Regions from separate parts of the Homo sapiens genome. Here region 1 is linked to region 2. The links are contacts of gene promoters, found by promoter capture Hi-C in blood cells and fetal thymus (Javierre and others, 2016). All regions are on one chromosome and are shown on one strand. Each heading gives the region's core, a stretch centred on a gene start or on the middle of the fragment in contact. The rest is flanking DNA. Distances are from core to core; before and after follow the strand shown.

The links. The method cuts DNA at HindIII sites, captures the fragments that hold promoters and counts their contacts. A CHiCAGO score of 5 or more calls a contact.
Region 1: a contact is called between a fragment that was not itself captured here and the fragment with the promoter of RDH11 in region 2, in 2 of 17 cell types (fetal thymus and naive B cells). The highest score is 7.0, in fetal thymus.

The regions. Positions count from the first base shown.
Region 1 is chr14:67,363,641-67,366,950 of GRCh38, forward strand. EIF2S1 (eukaryotic translation initiation factor 2 subunit alpha) reads left to right here. Exons shown (of 8, transcript NM_004094.5): 2 at 1,127-1,368. The coding sequence starts at 1,128. It also overlaps a transcript of GPHN not described here. Among named protein-coding and RNA genes, the nearest start is that of EIF2S1, 5.0 kb to the left of the region's middle. The HindIII fragment of the contact is 859 bases long and covers 943-1,801 here.
Region 2 is chr14:67,694,022-67,697,378 of GRCh38, forward strand. RDH11 (retinol dehydrogenase 11) reads right to left here and starts at 1,743. Exons shown (of 7, transcript NM_016026.4): 1 at 1,609-1,743. The coding sequence starts at 1,682. It also overlaps a transcript of GPHN not described here. RefSeq lists a silencer at 851-910 and enhancers at 1,260-1,896, 1,941-1,990, 2,011-2,060. The HindIII fragment of the contact is 2,925 bases long and covers 1,531-3,357 here.

The DNA of each region.
Region 1 (3,310 bases), core at 122-2,621, 330 kb before region 2:
AAATGGGGAGAACTAGGGAGAAAGTTGTACCACAAGGAGATAGGCAATGGCCAGATCATATAGGATTCTGTAGGTAGTGGAAAGATACATAAGTCAGTGGGAAGCCACTGAGAAGATATAGGCAGGTGCCAATTAATAAGTTATTATATGAATTTTCACAAGGTTTTCTTAGGCCTTTAAGTTCTGTTACTACCTACGTTTTGAGCAGTGACAACAGTGAAGGTTAACAGAAAAACATGAAAATCATCAGCCATGATTAGTTTGAGAGCTTCCTTTTTTAAATATGCTTCTACCCAGGCTATGATTTCAGGCTTGTGGATCATAAAAGGAGTAGTGCTGAAAGTAGGTTGGGTGGATCAAAGGGAATAATTGTAAATATCTTTAATGCTTGGAGGTTAAGAGAAACTTGAACTTTGTAGTAATGGAGATTAAAGCTATTCTCAAGATTAGGTATACCTATTCAATAAAAGAAAGGAATATTTGGGAGTATTGGGGATAAGAGAAGCTAGACATTGTGAATTCAAGGAAAAAGAATTATGAGAGGAGGATGCATTTTAGTTTATTTTGTGATTAAAATTTTTTTAGTTTTTGTTGTTTTGACATGTGACACTGTAATTTTGGCTATAATAAATGACAGAATGTATCATTTGGTATATTGGTTAGGGTTTAGGTAGAAAATTTTTTCCTTTATATAGTGAGTGGTAGCGTATACAATGTTTGCTCACTTCGGCAAAGAGTAGCTTTAGTTTTCTGATTAGTTATAATAGTGATGCTTCCCATCATTTGATATGCCTTAAAGTAGTATTTTACTCTTGAGGTATTCCTTTAATCCTTAGGTCTTGGAGTACTTTATAGATGGTCATTATTTTTTATGATTCCTCTGAAACTAAAGGCAGAGAATCACCCAAGCATTACAAAAATGTTGAGCAAAATAAAAATTAAAGCTTGGTTCCTGAACATTATCTGTTTTCTGGTACCACTTAAGAAGTTTCAAAGGATGAGAAGACTAAGACTAATAACTATTTTTTTCTTCATCTTTTCTTTCAGTGGCAGGATGTGGAAATTGATTTTTTTTTTATTTTCACCTTAACTGAATACTTACTTAATTCTTTTGTTTAAATTGCAGAATGCCGGGTCTAAGTTGTAGATTTTATCAACACAAATTTCCTGAGGTGGAAGATGTAGTGATGGTGAATGTCAGATCCATTGCTGAAATGGGGGCTTATGTCAGCTTGCTGGAATACAACAACATTGAAGGCATGATTCTTCTTAGTGAATTATCCAGAAGGCGTATCCGTTCTATCAACAAACTCATCCGAATTGGCAGGAATGAGTGTGTGGTTGTCATTAGGGTGGACAAAGAAAAAGGTAAGTGAGAAAAATATCTGTAATATAAATTTCAGATTTAAAATGGTTTATTTAAAAATACATTTTTTGTAAATTGCAAGCTGCAGCTTAAAAAAAAAAGCTCCTTTTATACTTAAACCTTTTACATACAAAGTTGTTAGAAAAGGATGCCAATTAGCTATCTAAGCAAGATCTCTTAATAGTAGTTTAATTAGTACATCCTAGGATTTTATGGATCAGATAACTTGAATTTTATTTCTAGTGTTTATCAGGATCTTGATAATTGACTCATGGTAACCAAACTTAGAGACAGGTAAGTCAGAGTACTAGTTCATTTACATTGGTAGGCCTGAATATGTTGGATGCCTTTTTCTTGATTTAAAGCTAAAATAGTAATGAGATCACTGGGTAAGCATGAAAATGGGGCAAATGGATTTTAGGGATCTTTTATATAAGCTTTGAAAAAGCAATATACTATGCGTGTATATACACACCTGAAATCCAACATTGTATATCTTGCTGGTAATTAGAATGTTTGCATCTACCAGATCTCGTGGTATCTTTCAGACAGTTTTGGATGAGCATTCATTTTTTACTTATTGGATGCCTTTTCTGGGCCCCATGTAAATCATCACCTTTGTGAATACTCTTTTTTTAAACATGGTGTACAATACCATTACGTAGGTTTTAGTTTCAGCCATCTTACTATAATTTGTTAGGTGTTAGTTTTAGGTCATTAGTTACCATCATGTCCGAAAGGCTTCATATCAGTCACCTTGATTCAACTTACCCTTCTGAATCTCCTCAGCCGTCTGGTTTACTGATACTTTCTCACTTCTGCAAGTGATTAATTTTATACATACTGACATTTTAATTTTTTTTATTATAGCCTTAGATGATACATAGATTTTGAGGATGTCTTATGCCTTAGGTAGTGACTGCTACTTAGCACATGGATTGTTTTAAATGTTTTGCTATGACTTAGCTATAGCCCCGCCCAAAATTATTAAACTACTTTGAGACTATTTGTTAAACTTAGGTAAGTCTTCACATCACTGTCCTAGTAGTACCTAAAGTAGTGTCTAATCTTGTACTTTTTTTTTTTTTTTTTAAGAATTGGGGTCTTGCTCTGTCACCCAGGCTGCAGTGTAGTGGTATGATCATAGGTCGCTGCAGCCTTGAACTCCTGTGTTCAAGTGTTCCTCAAGCAGTCCTCCCAAGTAGCTGGAACTACAGGCATGTGCCACCCTGCCCAGCTAACTTTCTTTGTAGAGATGGGGTCTTGCTGTGTTGCCCAGGCTAGTCTTGAACTGGGCTCAAGCGATTCTCCTGCCTTGGCCTCACAAAGTACTGGGATTACAGGTGTGAGCCACTGTGCTCAGCCTTCTTTTTCTATTGTATAAAATATACACAAAAGGAGGAATCAAATATGTTTTTAGTTGCAATCAGAAAAAATATGGAATGGCATACTTGCTTACGTACAGTAGATACATGTAAAGATATTTCCATAGCATTTGTTTGTATGGCATTAACTAAAACCAGGAAATGACCAAAATGGGGACTGGTTAAATAAATCAGTACAAATGCGTGCAATGCAATTTTATGCAGAATGAGATCTGAATATTTTGATATGGAAGATCTCCAGGATAGGATGAGAAAAAGCAAAGTGCAAAAGAGCCTGTAGAGAGGATTCATTTTGATACTAGAGAATTATGTCCTCCTAGACAAGCCTTTCAACGTAAATGCCATAAACCCTGAACAAGTATGAAAAATAACTACCTAAAGACAATGAGAAGCAGCCAAAAGCAGGCCAAAATTGAAAATTTGAAGGTGAGTCGACACTTATAAGAAAGGGTATGTTTTCTGTTTTACACCTTTTTTTTTGACCTAAGTACATGCTGAAGACAGCTTCAAGCCAGGCAGCTAAGGTTCTAGCAGAAAATTTATGGTCTTATTGGCTTTA
Region 2 (3,357 bases), core at 493-2,992:
TGGTTCTCAGACTGGCCTATTCTCTTCTTGGCAATGTTGGGACTCTGGTTAAAACAATCTGTTGACCAGGAGATGCATTCTTAAAGAGCATTTCAGCCTTTTTCATTGAACTTGGAATTGCAAGGTACATACTCTTAGCCATTGAAGCTACCTGCATAGTGCGAAAATGCTGACAGGGAGGCAGATTAACTCATGGTCCCCACAAACCATCACCTCCCTCCTCAGAAAACAAGCCTCTAGGCTGTTTCCCACATCCCCTTACTGTATGTAGCTCCAGGAGTGACAACTTAGTAGGACCTGTACTTAGTTCTTTCTTCTCCTTAACCAGCAGGAATGAAAGAGACAACTATAAAAGTCCAGCTCTGGCCCGACTCCCATAACCCTGCTGAGTTGGGAATACAGCTCCTGGAATATATATATATATATATATACACACACACACACATATATATATATACACACACACACATATATATATATATATACACACATATATTTTTTTTTTTTCCAGAAAAATCCCTCTGGGGTATGAGCACTATTTTCAGTTCTGGTTCAACTTTTCATTGAGATTCTATGTGGATAAGAGGATCTTGTAGTGAAAAAAAGATAAAAAGCAGTGTTTTCATCTGAGTGTGAGAAACCATGTGTGCCTAGAGGTGGGAGAACTGAGTGTTCAGAAGGCAGAAAAAATATAACTGGAAGAGGGGCACCAGAGAAGGAAGAGAAAATAAAAATAAAAGAAGGAAAGTAGGTGACTGTGGTAAGAAATGACTGTGATCTGGCCTGGCTTCAAGTTCTATTGGGACTAAGACCGCCCACCTGGGGAAGGAGTGTGTCTGTCTATTCAGTCACTGGTCCGTCACCACTGGTGATTTACTTAGAACCAATAAGCAGGCTGCCGGTTTTACAGCCCGCTGCTGATTCACTGGGGCACTTGGCCAGCCTTGGGCTGATTGATCTATCACCTGGTCAATACCTTCCCACCATTCTCCCAGCCCTCACCGCCCCAGTACCCTAGCTCCTAACTCAGATCCCCCGTGCTCCTGCTCGCAAGGCAGGATAGAGCTCATAACCAAACACTCTTCCTTTTCACTTTTCTCCTTTACAACATCCGCCCACAGAACAAGCGATTGTAACAGCAACGAGAGAGCAAGGATGGGGCCGCAGATGTTACGATTGCTATCAGTTTCAGAGGGCGAAATGTGGAATCGCTCCTTTGTACCTCGAAGGCTGGTTTAAGGCGTGGGGAATAAGGGGAAAACAGCGTCGGGCCATATCCCATTGAAGAGTCCGAAACTCAAGCGTTTGAGGTAGCCTTACCCTCGGGATTCCCTGGAGCCAGAATCAGGGGGTGCTTAGACAAAAGAAAAACAGGCCAGGGAAAAGCAGTGTGCCCCGGACTGCCGCCCTTTCTCACCGCCTGGGGTCTCGGGTGTCCTCCTGGCACCCAGGACAGCTGGACCTCGCCTCCAACCCACCGAACTCTGGGCTCCGCCATCTTGGAGCCCCCCCAGGGGAGTTTTCCAAGAAAGCTTTGGTGGGGATTCTATGTTTCCCTCCCGCCCCGCAACAAGAATTCTCAAGAGAAGGCAATACATTTGCACAGACCTGATTTGGGGCGCAGCCATATACAGAAGGAAGGGCAGAAGGAGGAGCAACAGCGGGAACATGAGCTCAACCATCTCTGCCGGCTGCAGCGGCACCAGAGCGGGATGCTCCAGCGTTGCTCGCCGACTATGGCTTCTCTTTCTAGACACGCCCCAATTCAAATTGCGACAGCCCGGGGAGCAGACCTTCTGGGAAATGTAGTCCAGAGCTTGACAGCCTCAGGCTGGCTACGTGGGAGCGCTGCCGCCAACGCTGGCAGAAGTTGAATTATACATCGCTAATCCCCAACCATCTAGGGCTTAGGGCCTGTGGGATCATTCACCCAGCTCTCAGTTATTTTTTCTGCCTTCTGAATACTCAGTTCTCCCACCTCTAGGCACACATGGTTTCTCACACTCAGATGAAAACACTGCTTTTTATCTTTTTTTCACTACAAGATCCTCTTATCCACATAGAATCTCAATGAAAAGTTGAACCAGAACTGAAAATAGTGCTCATACCCCAGAGGGATTTTTCTGGAAAAAAAAAAGTATACACTATAGGAATAGTACACTTATTCCTATAGTGTACTAGGCACCGCGGTGTTTGTGAAATCTCTGCAGTCCTCTATCTCCCCAGACCCAAGTCCAGTGCCTGGTTCAGTTTTCCCCAATCCTGGTTAGGCAGTTACCGCACTGTTTCTCCTGGAGATCAGATGTTGGCGTCTGGGAAATGAAAGGCGGATTAGACAGGAGAGGAGCGGTCCGAAGTCTGACAGTTGGGAAGGTGGGGGAATGTAAACCCTTCCTCCTCGAGGATTCCTTTTTCCAGAGAAGAGGAAGCAATAAGTCCTTGAAGACATTCTCAGGAGAATCACTTTATTGTGTCTATCTTGAATTATGGTGGCAACTATCATGATTTTTCTAGTGTTTGAGTGTTCATTGATAATAGAATATCGTCTTCCTGATGGCTTGGGTCACATACATTAACTCCCAGGGTAGCAATGAATATCTCAGATTGGCACAGTTGGTTTTGCCAACTCGTGAAAGTATTTAATCCTGTCTTGAATTAAGGCCATGAATATGTTCTCTGTGAATAAATAGGTTCCCTGTTCAATAGTTTCTTTCATCTGAGGCCTATTTCCTGGGGGTGAAAGTGGAGGGTGTTTTAACCAATCAATATCTGTCTGTGATTCCTTAATTGTACCCAGTAATATTTTCTGGTCCTTTTGCATAATTTCCATTTGGTTAAAAGACACGGGTTCCAATGAACTAATATATTTTATAGCAAATTGGAGAAGAGAGGGTTTCCTTCACACAATACTAATTCCTACCAATTTAACATTAGATTACCTAGCAATCATCACATTTTGTCACATTCTCATTATTGTGTTACCTAATATTTGTATTGGGTTTTATAACTTTATAAAAGCCTTTCATTTGTTTTGTTCCTTATTCAGTCATTCACGCATTTGACAAACATTTATGGCATTCCTATAGTGTACTAGGCACTGTGCTGATGTCCAGCAGGAAGCCAGGAACACATAATCTCTGCTCGCCCGGAGTTCATGGACTGTCAGAGAAGACCTTAAATAAGTAATCACTGTAAATAAATCATGGTGAAGGTTATGAGGAGGATTAGAGAAAGCTCTGGGAGCTTTTACAAGGGAGAGGAGTTCTAGATCAGGAGAGGCTTATTTGAGGAAATAACATTTGAGCGGAGGCCAGAGGGAAGTTAGTAGGCAAGCAACATAGACAAGAGTGTGCTGAG